Linked DNA regions of Homo sapiens: regions 1, 3 and 4 are each linked to region 2. The links are contacts of gene promoters, found by promoter capture Hi-C in blood cells and fetal thymus (Javierre and others, 2016). All regions are on one chromosome and are shown on one strand. The core of a region is centred on a gene start or on the middle of the fragment in contact, and the rest is flanking DNA. Distances in the headings are between cores, read along the strand shown. Region 1 has its middle 89 kb from the start of VOPP1-DT. Region 2 holds the start of MRPS17 (mitochondrial ribosomal protein S17). Region 3 has its middle 47 kb from the start of VOPP1-DT. Region 4 has its middle 66 kb from the start of VOPP1-DT.

The links. The method cuts DNA at HindIII sites, captures the fragments that hold promoters and counts their contacts. A CHiCAGO score of 5 or more calls a contact.
Region 1: a contact is called between a fragment that was not itself captured here and the fragment with the promoter of MRPS17 in region 2, in 10 of 17 cell types (neutrophils, total CD4 T cells, naive B cells and 7 more). The highest score is 9.4, in neutrophils.
Region 3: a fragment that was not itself captured here is called in contact with the fragment with the promoter of MRPS17 in region 2 in 2 of 17 cell types (naive CD8 T cells and total B cells); the score reaches 7.2 in naive CD8 T cells.
Region 4: a contact is called between a fragment that was not itself captured here and the fragment with the promoter of MRPS17 in region 2, in 17 of 17 cell types (naive CD4 T cells, M2 macrophages, naive CD8 T cells and 14 more). The highest score is 25.5, in naive CD4 T cells.

The regions. Positions count from the first base shown.
Region 1 is chr7:55,660,563-55,663,315 of GRCh38, forward strand. It overlaps the pseudogene LOC643348. Among named protein-coding and RNA genes, the nearest start is that of VOPP1-DT, 89 kb to the left of the region's middle. The HindIII fragment of the contact is 1,334 bases long and covers 808-2,141 here.
Region 2 is chr7:55,950,365-55,953,236 of GRCh38, forward strand. MRPS17 (mitochondrial ribosomal protein S17) reads left to right here and starts at 1,513. Exons shown (of 3, transcript NM_015969.3): 1 at 1,513-1,566; 2 at 2,815-2,872. The coding sequence starts at 2,832. RefSeq lists an enhancer at 1,566-1,625. The HindIII fragment of the contact is 16,512 bases long and covers 1-2,872 here.
Region 3 is chr7:55,618,575-55,621,507 of GRCh38, forward strand. No RefSeq gene overlaps it. Among named protein-coding and RNA genes, the nearest start is that of VOPP1-DT, 47 kb to the left of the region's middle. The HindIII fragment of the contact is 1,040 bases long and covers 1,136-2,175 here.
Region 4 is chr7:55,637,069-55,639,987 of GRCh38, forward strand. It overlaps the pseudogene CDC42P2. Among named protein-coding and RNA genes, the nearest start is that of VOPP1-DT, 66 kb to the left of the region's middle. The HindIII fragment of the contact is 6,021 bases long and covers 1-2,919 here.

The DNA.
Region 1 (2,753 bases), core at 225-2,724, 290 kb before region 2:
AAGCCTTTTTCTGAACTATAAATGTTTTATGCTAATTTGAATTACATTTCAAGGGGTAATGATTCTTGGGGTTAAGAAGCAATTATATCTCCTAGTATAAAAGTTCAGCAACATGATGATCCATACAATTTTCCTGAACAAAAATGTCTGAATTCAATAGCACAATCTTATAATCCTCTGTTAGTTTACACAAAGTAAGGGTGCATACTAAACAATGATAACAAAAGATCTTGCTAAAATTTCAGTGCTACTGAGTTGGAAAGAATAATTTTCCTTTAGATGGAATGATTATTTTATTTTAAAAAGGTAAGTGGAGTGGCACCACTACTAATTGTTTGACATTTCTCCCATGAAATTCCCTCTCCTGAATACAAGCTGGCATTGGTAATTGGTTACTAGTGAACATCATATGGCAGAACTGGGTGCGACTTCTTGTTTTTTTTTTTTTTAGACAGAGTCTCGCTCTGTTGCCCAGGCTGGAGTGCAGTGGCGCTATCTTGGCTCTCTGCAAGCTCCACCTCCAGGGTTCACACCATTCTCCTGCCTCAGCCTCCCGAGTAGCTGGGACTACAGGCGCCCACCACCACGCCCAGCTAATTTTTTTTTATTTTTAGTAGAGACAGGGTTTCATCATGTTAACCAGGATGGTCTCGATCTCCTGACCTCATGATCCACCAGCCTCGGCCTCCCAAAGTGCTGGGATTACAGGCGTGAGCCACCGCACCCAGCCAGAACTGTGTGTGACTTCTAACGTTGGATAAGAAAATGTATTATAATACAGCTTCCACCTGACTTTCTCTCTAGGGAAGCTTGTTCTTAGAATCCAGCCACCACAATGTAAGGAAGACTGAGCCAAATGATGAATCCTCATGTAGGTGTTCCAGCTGACTGCCCCAGCTTCACTTCCCAGCCAAAAGCCAGCTTCATCTGCCACACAGGCAAATCAACAGGACTTTAATATTTTCAATGATTCTAGTCTAAGTTTCAAGTCACTTCATCTGATACCATAGAAAGTGAGATAGCCCCACTGAGCCTTGCCTAAAACTGCAAATTGTGAACAAAATAGATACTGTCTTGAGACAATGAATTTTGAGGTGGTGTATTACACAGCAATAGATAACTGATACAGATACTGACACTAAATATGGGCTACTGCCATTAAAAGATACTACTAAAACCTGGCAGGATACCATTGGGCCAGGAGCTAGGTAGAGGCTGAAAAGACCTAGAGAAGAATAATGAACACTGAAAGGGCTTCAAAGAAACTGTTAGTGGAAGCCTGTCCCACTCACCCTGAGACTGAAGCTGTGGCACCTAAATCAGCATCAGTTTAAGAGCCCAAACCGCCCCCTACTACCAGACTACATCCTGCCCAGAGACCCAACAGCCCCTGCATCTCCACATTCAGTGGAGCACCGCTGACATTTCACAACATTCACAGAGAGGACTTGCGGCATCATGCACCAGCTGGACCCACAACACCTGATGTGGCTGGGTCCCCAAAACCCTAACCTTGCAGCACCCTACACCCTTGGAAATAGTTGGTCCGGCCCACCAGAAAAGGTACTCTAGGACAAAGGAATCCTAAGTATGTGCTCCTAGAGCCTGAGAGCCACCTGACTGAGGCCATGACCACCAACGCAACCCTGTCCCCTCCAGCGGCAGCACTGCTGCACACCTGTGCACACCTTCAGGAGGCCTGAGGACTGACTCACGCATGTGCACCATCCTAAATCCTGAAAGCCAGCCTGCCCAACCCACCAGGGGCAGTGCCTGTGTGAGCCATATGGGAGCCTGAAGACAAGGTCACCTTGCTTGCCACTGCCACTATTGCTGCCAGTGCCTACATATGCCGTCCAGGGCCTGAAGGAGGAGCCCATCCCACCCAGGCCTATATGTGCATTCTGGGGCCTGAAGACAAGTCTGCCCCATCCACCACTATCACCACAAGTACCTGTATTCTGGGAGCCTGAGGATTGGCATCCCTATTTCTATAAGTGTCCATACACACTGTCAAGGGCCTGAGAACAATTCCATTGCCCCACTGGCACCCACACATGTCCTCCAGGGCCTGAGGACAGGGCTGCCCCACCAGCCACTGACAAAGGCTCCTGCATGTGCACTCAGTGAACCCATAAACAAGCTTGCCCCACCCATGGCTATAGAAACCCACCCAAATGTGCCACACAAGGGCCCAGGAAAATGCCCAGCCAGACTGCTGTCACCATTACTAGTGCCCGTTCATGCAACCCAGGGTCTGGCCCCTCACTGCTATTGTCATTGTAGGTACCACAAGTTCCACCCAGGGTCCTTAGGACTGTCATGCCACTGCCACCTCTGATCCCAGCACACACTACCTGGAGGCCCAAGCACCAGCCCACCCAGGCAACCCACTGCCTCCCAAGTAGCTGAGATTACAGGCACCCGCCACCACGCCCAGCTAATTTTTGTATTTTTAGTAGAGACGGGGTTTTGCCACGTTGGCCAGGCTGGTCATGAACTCCTGACCTCAGGCAATCCACCCGCCTCGGCCTCCCAAAGTGCTTGGATTACGGGCATGAGCCACTACACCCAGCTGAAAGAAAAATCTTAAAGGCAGGTAGAGAAAGGGTCAGATGACATACCATGGGAACTCCATTAGGCTAACAGTGGATTTTTCAACAAAAATCTTACACATCAGAACAAAGTGAGAACCTATTTTCAGCATCCTAAAAGAAAAGTCATTTCAACCAAGAATCTCATATCCTGCCAAT
Region 2 (2,872 bases), core at 263-2,762:
TTTTTAGTCGGGATATTGTTAGTACAACTCCAAAAGCATATAGTGTATACTATAGGATTTAGCATTAATCATTGATGTTGTCGGGGTAGGGACCAGAGTTCTAACTGTGGAAGAAAGGAGATAAAAATACGGAACTGGTGAAGCAAAAGAAGAAACCCACTGGTGGCTCATGCCTGTAATCCCAGCACTTTGGGAAGCCGAGACGGGCGGATCACGAGGTCAGGAGATCGAGACCATCCTGGCTTACACGGTGAAACCCCGTCTCCACTAAAAAAAATACAAAAAATTAGCCGGCCTGGTGGCAGGCGCCTGTAGTCCCAGCTACTCGGAAGGCTGAGGCAGGAGAATGGCGTGAACCCGGGAGGCGGAGCTTGCAGTGAGCCGAGATCGCGCCAGTGCACTCCAGCCTGGGCGACAGAGACAGCCTCCGTCCCAAAAAAGAAAGAAACCCACTGCTGTTTAAAGGTAGGTGTGTGTGTGCGTGTGTGTATGTTTCAATGTATCGATAGCTACATCTGCTGAAATAGCCTACAGGCAGGAAAATCCCAGTAGCAAGTTGCTCACCTAGCACTCAGAGCTTTGTTGCTAAGTACCACTCCCCACTGATATTTTTCGTTTGAAAAACTTCTGATACAATAACTGGTCAGGGAAAGTATAGGTAAATCTGGACCAGCCAGGCACAGTGGCTCATGCCTGTAATCCCAGAACTTTGGGAGTCCGAAATAGGTGGATCACTTGAGGCCAAGAGTTCAAGAACAGCCTGGCCAACATGGTGAAATCCCGTCTCTACTAAAAATAAAAAAAATTAGCTGGACGTGGTGCCAGATGCCTGTAGTCCCAGCTACTCAGGAGGCTGAGGCAGGAGAATCCCTTAAACCCAGGAGGCAGAGGTTGCAGTGAGTCAAGATCATGCCACTGCACTCCAGCCTGGGCAACAAGAGTGAGACCCTGTCTCAAAAAAAAAAAAAAAAAAAACACTTTTAGGCCAGGCACGGTGGCTCACGCCTGTAATTCCAACACTTTGAAAGGCCAAAGTGGTTGGATCACTTAAGGCCAGGAGTTCGAGACCAGCCTGGCCAACATGTGAAACCCTGTCTCTACTAAAAATACAAAAATTAGCTGGGCATGGTGGTGCACGCCTGTAATCCCAGCTACTTGGGAGGTTGAGGCAGAAGAATCGCTTGAACCCGGGAGGCAGAGGTTGCAGTGAGCAGAGATCGCGCCACTGCACACCAGCCTGGGCGACAGAGCGAGACTCCGTCTCAAAAAAAAAAAAAAAAAAAAGAAACAAAACAAAAGAATGAAAGAAAAGTCCGAAACCTCCTGCGCCACTGTCCACTAGCTGCGCGCGTTAGGAAACCAGAGGTCAGCGCCCCCGACCCCGCCACCGCCGCGGGTCCCTTTAAGGGAGAGTGGGCGGGGTCCTGCCTTTAACTCCGCCCACGGCTAAGGAGATGCACGGCCTACGAGAGGGGTAGTGTGGGACTGAGCCAATGCGTACGGCGTGACGCCATCCCGCTGCGACCGGCGCTCCCCGGGGCAGGTGGCTGCATAGTCTTGGCGGAGGTGAGTCTCGTGGTGGAGGTGAGGGCAGGCTCCGGGGTATTGCTGCCGGGGGAGGATTTGCTGGGGACCCAAGGCACCCTCGCGTGAGAGCCCTGAGAGCGAATCGCTTCGTCTGACCTCGGGGTTGTCTGGGGCGAGGGCACGAATCACCCCAACCTTTCCGAAGCCTGGTGGAATGGCTTGTGAACTGATCTCAAAAGCAGCCCAAGTCATCCGTCGCTGGGCCGGGGAGGGGGACACCGCGGCGGCCCCGCCGAGTGCTACCTGGGCACTGAGCCTGTGGGGAGAGGCGACCCAGCGGGGTGGAGAGAGATAAGGGACCAGTAACGTCCAGCGTTTGTCCGTGGTATTGAGCGTTCTGTGGGTCAAATTCTCAAAGCACTCCTGCGAAATAGGCCTGCCCATTTTGCAGAAGGGGAACGTGAGGCTTGGCGAAGTTAAAGTTACCGCTTTGTAAGCGCTGTAAAGATGAGAGGTTGGGTAGTGGGGAACGTGTAAGCATCTCTGAAATGGTGATTCAAGCCGGGCGCGGTGGCTCACGCCTCTTAATCCCAGCACTTTGGGAGGCTTGAGGCGGGCGGATCACCTGAGGTCAGGAGTTCGAGACCAGTCTGGCCAACATGGTGAAACTCTGTCTTTACTAAAAATACAAAAATTAGCTCGGCGTGGTGGTGCGGGCCTGTAGTCCCGGCTACTCGGGAGGCTGAGGGAGAAGAATCGCTTGAACCCGGGAGGCGGAGGTTGCAGTGAGCCGAGATCGCGCCACTTCACTCCAGACTGGGCGAAAGAACTAAACTTCATCTAAAGAAAAATACATATGGCCGGGCGCGGTGGCTCACGCCTGTAATCCTAGCACTCTGGGAGGCCGAGGCGGGCGGATCACGAGGTCAGGAGATCAAGACCATCCTGGCTAACACGGTGAAACTCCATCTCTACTAAAAATACAAAAAAATTAGCCGGGCGTTGTGGCGGGCGCCTGTAGTCCCAGCTGCTCGGGAGGCTGAGGCAGGAGAATGGCGTGAACCCAGGAGGCGGCGTTTGCAGTGAGCCAAGATCGCACCACCGCACTCCAGCCTGGGCGACAGAGAGAGACTACATCTAAAAAAAAACAAAACAAAACTGTTTCTGGGTGGAGGGGGGAACGAAAAAGAAAAAAACTGTTTCTGGACTAACCTGGACAGTTCTTGTGACAAAATTCATGTGGCATCATAACCACCAGAATATGAGACTTTGGAATTTGCTTTTCAGGTGACCAAAGCCACGTAATGTCCGTAGTTCGCTCATCCGTCCATGCCAGATGGATTGT
Region 3 (2,933 bases), core at 406-2,905, 330 kb before region 2:
GTTTGGAACTTCCTAGAGAATTGGAGGGGTCAGAAGACAGGAAGATGTGGGAAAGTTTGGAACTTCCTAGAGACTTGTTGAATGGCTTTGACAAAAGTGTGGATAGTGATATGGACAATGAAGTCCAGGCTGAGGTGGTCTCAGATGGAGATGAGGAACTTGTTGGGAACTGGAGTAAAGGTGACTCTGTGACTGGTGGCATTTTGTCCCTGCCCTAGAGATCTGTGGGACTTTGAACTTGAGAGAGATAATTTAGGGTGTCTAGTGGAAGAAATTTCTAAGGGGCAAAGCATTCAAGAGGAAGCAGAGCATAAAAGTTTGGAAAATTTGCAGCCTGACAATGCCATAGAAAAGAAAGCCCCATTTTCTGGGGAGAAATTCAAGCCAGCTGCAGAAATTTGCATAGTAATGAGGATTTAAATATTAATCACCAAGATAATGAGGAAAATTATCTCCAGGGCATCTCGGAAACCTTCACAGCAGACCCTCCCATCACAGGCCTGGAGGCCTAGGAGGGAAAAATGGTTTTGTAGGGACCTAGGGCCCCCCTGCTCCATGCAGCCTTGGGACAGGGGCTCTGCATCCCAGCTGCTTCAGCTCTAGCCATGGCTAAAAGGAGCCAAAGTACAGCTCAGGCCATTGCTTCAGAGCGTGCGAGCCCCAAAGCCTTCACAGCTTCTATGTGGTGTTTGTCCTGTGGGTGCAAAGATGACAAGAATTGAGGTTGGGGAACCTCCACCTAGATTTCAGAGGATGTATGGAAATCCCTGGATGTTCACGCAGAAGCCTGCTGCAGGGGCAGAGCCTTCACAGAGAACCTCTGCTAGGGCAGTGAAGAAGGTAAGTTTGGGGCTGGTAGCCCCATCAGAGTCCCCAATGGAGCACTGCCTAGTGAAGGTGTGAGAACAGGGCCATCATCCTCCAGACCCCAGAATGGTAGATATATTGTCCGCTTGCACCATGTGCCTGGAAAAGCCACAGGCACTCAACATCAGCCCATGAAAGCAGCCAGGAGAGAGGCTGTAAACTGCAAAGCCCTGGGAGTGGAGCTGCTAAGGCTGTGGGAGCCCACCTCATGCATCGGCATGACATGGATGTGCGACATGGAGTCAAAGGAGATTATTTTGGAATTTTAAGCTTTGACTGCCCTATTGGATTTTGGGTTTGCATAGGTCCTGTAGCCCCTTTATTTTGGCCACTTTCTCTTATTTGGAACAGGTGTATGTACCCAATGCCTGTACCTCCATTTTATCTAGGATGTAACTAACTTGCTTTTAATTTTACAGGCTCATAGGTGGAAGGGGCTTGTCTTGTCTCAGATGAGACTTTGGACTTGCTTTTTTGGGTTAATGCTGGAATGAGCTTAGACTTTGGGGTACTGTTGGAAAGGGCATGATTGTGTTTTGAAATGTGAAGACATGAGATTTGGGAGGGGCCAGGAGAAGAAGGATATGGGTTTTTTGTGTCCCCACCCAAATCTCCACTTGAGCTGTAATCCCATAATCCCCACATGTCATGGGAGGGACCCAGTGGGAAGTAATTAAATCATGAGGGCAGTTCCCCTCCATGCTGTTCTTGTGATACTGAGTTCTCACGAGATCTGATTGTTTTATAAGGGGCTTCCCTCTTAGCTTGGCACTCATTCTCTCTCCTGCCACCCTGTGAAGAGGCGCCTCTGCCATAATTGTAAGTTTCCTGAGTCCTCCCCAGCCATTTGGAACTGTGAGTCAATTAAATCTCTTCTCTTTATAAATTACCCAGTCTCAGGTATTTCTTCATAGCAGCGTGAAAACTGACTAATGCTCATGTCTTGTGCAGTAAGATGGATACAGCTGGAGCCATTATCCGAACTAATCCAGGAACAGAAAATCAAATACCACATATCCTCTCTTATACATGGAAGCTAAACATTGGGTACACATGGACAAGATGGGAATAATAGACACTGGGGGGTTACTTGGTTGGGGGCAAAGGCTAAAAATCTACCTACTGGATACTATGCTCACTACCTGGGTGATGGGATCATTCATGCTCTAAACCTCAGCATCACACCATGTAACAAACATGTTACCCATGTAACAAACTTGCACATGTACCTCCAACTCTAAAATGAGATGAAATTATAAAATAAATTGTAGACACATTTGAAACCGGATTCTAAGACTGTTACTCTTAAGCTTATTTGTTAGTGTTAATTCTGTGATTTTAAGTTGTTACTATTGAGAAAAGAAAAAGAATAGCTCAGAACAGTCTGAGCTATGCAAAATTTACTAGGCCCAGAGAGACATGAGTATGGGGCTTCAGTTCTACCCCTAACACCCATGCCCAGGGACAACTGTTTAAAGTCATTTTTGTTCCTTAATAGCTGACCCACCCATTATACTCATGTTTCTGAAATTTTTGATACAAAGAACAATGTACAGCCAATCAATAAATTATGTTATGTTTGGTAAACAATTTGCATGGTGGCTTACACCTGTAATCCCAGCACTTTGGGAGGCCGAGATGGGCGGATCATGAGGTCAGGAGTTCGAGATCAGCCTTGCCAATATGGTGAAACCCCGTCTCTATTAATAATACAAAAATTAGCCAGGTGTGGTGGTGTGTGCCTGCAGTCCCGGGTACTTGGGAGGCTGAAGCAGAAGAATCACCTGAACCTGGGAGGTGGAGGTTACAGTGAGCCGAGATCACACCACTGCACTCCAGCCTGGGCGACAGAGAGAGGCTCTGTTTCAAAAATAAATAAATAATAAATAAAAATAAATTTAAAAATTTGGGAGCTGCCTCTTCTTTTTTCCTCAAAAATTCCCTTGTAACTATTGCTAATTGGAGTGTGTAATTTATATCATACAAATTATGATTTGAATTTGAAATCATTCAATCAACTTGAATCTATACTCCAGGGTAGATATCCTTAAGCTTTGTGCTTGAAT
Region 4 (2,919 bases), core at 142-2,641, 310 kb before region 2:
TTTTTTTGCATTTGTTAAGGATTATTTTGTATCCTATTATATAGGCCTGGAGAATGTTTCACATGCTGATGAGAATTATATGTACTCTGAAGCAATTGAGTGACATGTTCTGTAAATGTCAGACTCATTTGGTCAAGTGTGTAGCTTAACTCCAATTTTGTGGTTGTTGCTGATTTTCTGTCAGAATAATCTGTTCCTTCCTCAAGAGTGTTGAAGTACCCTACCATTGATATATTGCAGTTTTTCTCTCTGTTTAGATATATTAATGTTTGCTTTATGTACTTGGGTGCTCTTGCTTTGAATATATATTTATAACTGTTATATCTTCTTGGTAAATTGACCCCCTTTTTTTGACAGGGAAAAACTTTTTTAAATTACAAACTCAATTCATTTGGTGTATTTCAAAGGTGCAATACTTTTCTTCATTTATCAGTGAAAGAAGTTAGAAATTAACTTCCCCCAAAAATCAGCAAATGGCAAACAAATGTCCTTGAAAGTCACAATCACATATAGTGTGTCCTAGAAAAGAGGCGGGACTAGACAGGCTCCACCCACTTTCATGAGTTTCATCAAATACTGGACCTACTCCAGGGTGGAGAGAACGGGCAACTTTCAAAAAGGAGTATGTTATTAAATGAGGCATTTACTATACTCCTTCCTAAGAGCACCAGATGGGGAATATGTTTTCTAAACTAGATCTAGAAAGTGGAAGGGGGAATCAATCCATCCTCCTCCCCTTAAGGGCTATCCACTGGTTAATTAAGTAAAAAAAACAAGACTAAAAAACCCCACATACAGTCCTTGAAAAGAAGAGGAGAAAAAAAAACCCCAAACACTAAGATGTCCCAGATTACTCTCCAGAGTGGAACCAGGGAGCAGCTTCAACAATTCCAATTAGTCTGTATGTCTTGCTTTTAAACAAACAAAAAATTTTTTTCAAACTACAAAACAAAAACTAGTACTAATCACTTTTCTGACAATACACAATTACTCAAAATTAACTAGTACTCGGAGGGGGAAGGGGGCATACTAGATGGCACCTTAATACCTATGGGCCTTGTCTCACACGAGTGCATGTGGGTAGGTGCAGGGCATTTGTCATTATTGCAAAAAATTTTTTTAATTTTTAATCTTTAGTTTGATTTAAACATTACTTTTAGTATGATGCCAACACCAGCTGTGCAGAAAGGGTTCTGGAGAGATGTTCATAGCAGCACACACCTGCGGCTCTTCTTTCTGGAGGCTCCAGGGCAGCCAATATTGCTTAGTCAAATACGTTCCTTAGGCCTTTCTGCGTGAGTGCAGAACACTCCACATACCTGACAGCCTTCAGGTCACGGACCAGCTTTTCAGCAGGCTCTGGAGTGATAGGCTTCTGTTTGTTCTTGGCAAGTTTCTCAATAGAGGAGTCATCTCTGAGATCAGTTTGGGTCCCAGCAAGCAAGAGAGGAGTCTTTGGACAGTGGCAAATTATCTCAGGCACCCACTTTTCTTTCACATTTTCAAATGAAGATGGAGAGACCACTGAAAAACAGACTAGACATACATCTGTCTGTGGATAACTCAGTAGTAGTAATCTGTCATAATCCTCTTGCCCTGCAGTATCAAAAAGCCCAAGAGTATATGGTTCTCCAGCAATCATAACTGTGACTGCATAGTTGTCAAAAACAGTCAGCATATGTTCTGATGGAAATTTGTTTGTTGTGTAGGATATCAGGAGACTTGTTTTACCAATAGCACCATCGCCCACAACACCACACTTAATTGTCTGCATTGCTGAAATAGTTTTGTATCCACCTTAAATATTTCAAATCTGATGTTGACCTCAGCTTCTCCACTGGGGTGTTCGAAATTGACCCCTTTATCATCATATAGTGACCTTCTTTATCTCTGTTTACATTTTACTTGTGGTCTATTTTATATGATATAAATATTGCTACTCCTGCTCTTTTTTGGTTTCCATTCGCATGGAATTTTTTCTCATCCTTTCATTTTCAGTTTATACATGTCTTTATTGATGAAATCGGTTCGTTGTAGGTAGTGTATATATGAATCTCGTTTCTTTATTCATTCATCCACTCAATGTCTTTCAATTGAAAAAATGAGTTCATTCTTTTGATAAATAAGTACTGATAAATAAGTACTATTGTCGTTTTGTGATTTGTATCTTTGTTGTTTTGTAACTCCTCTCTTTCTCACTGTCTCTTCTTCGTGGTTAATTTTCTATGGTACTGTGTTTTAATTTGTTGCTTTTTTATTTTCAGTGTATTTATTAGAAAATTTTGCTCTGTGATTATGAAGATTACAAAAATATCTTAAAGTGATGACTTTGATCACAAAGAAAATAATATAAACTAAGAAAGCTCTACACTTCATCTTCTCCCCATTTTGAATTTCATTGTGTCACTTTATGTATCTTTGTATTTCTTCTCTCTTAACAGGTTTCTGTAGATACTTTTGTTTTTCATAGATTTGTCTTTTAGTCATCACACTAAAGTGATAAGTGGACTGCATACTACAGTTACAAAATTTTGAGTTTGTCTGTTGGCTTATTTTTACCAATGAGTTTTATAACTTTAGATGTTTTCTTTTTTGCACATTTGCGTTTTTCTCTTTTCAGACTGAAGAAATTTCTTTGGCATTTCTTGTGAGATGGGTCTGATGAGATGCATTCTCTTAACTTTTGTTTGTCTGAGAAACACTATCTCCCCTTCATGTTTGAAGGATAGCTTTGCTGGTTACAGTATTCACAGTTGACAATTTTAGTCTTTCAGCACTTTACATGTACTCCCACTTTCTCCTGGGTTGGACAGTTGCCATTTAGAAGTCTGCTGCCAGTCAGATTGGAGCTCCTTTATATTATTCACTTATTTTCCCTTGCTGCTTTTAGTAGTTTATTTGTCTTAGGCCTTTGAGGGT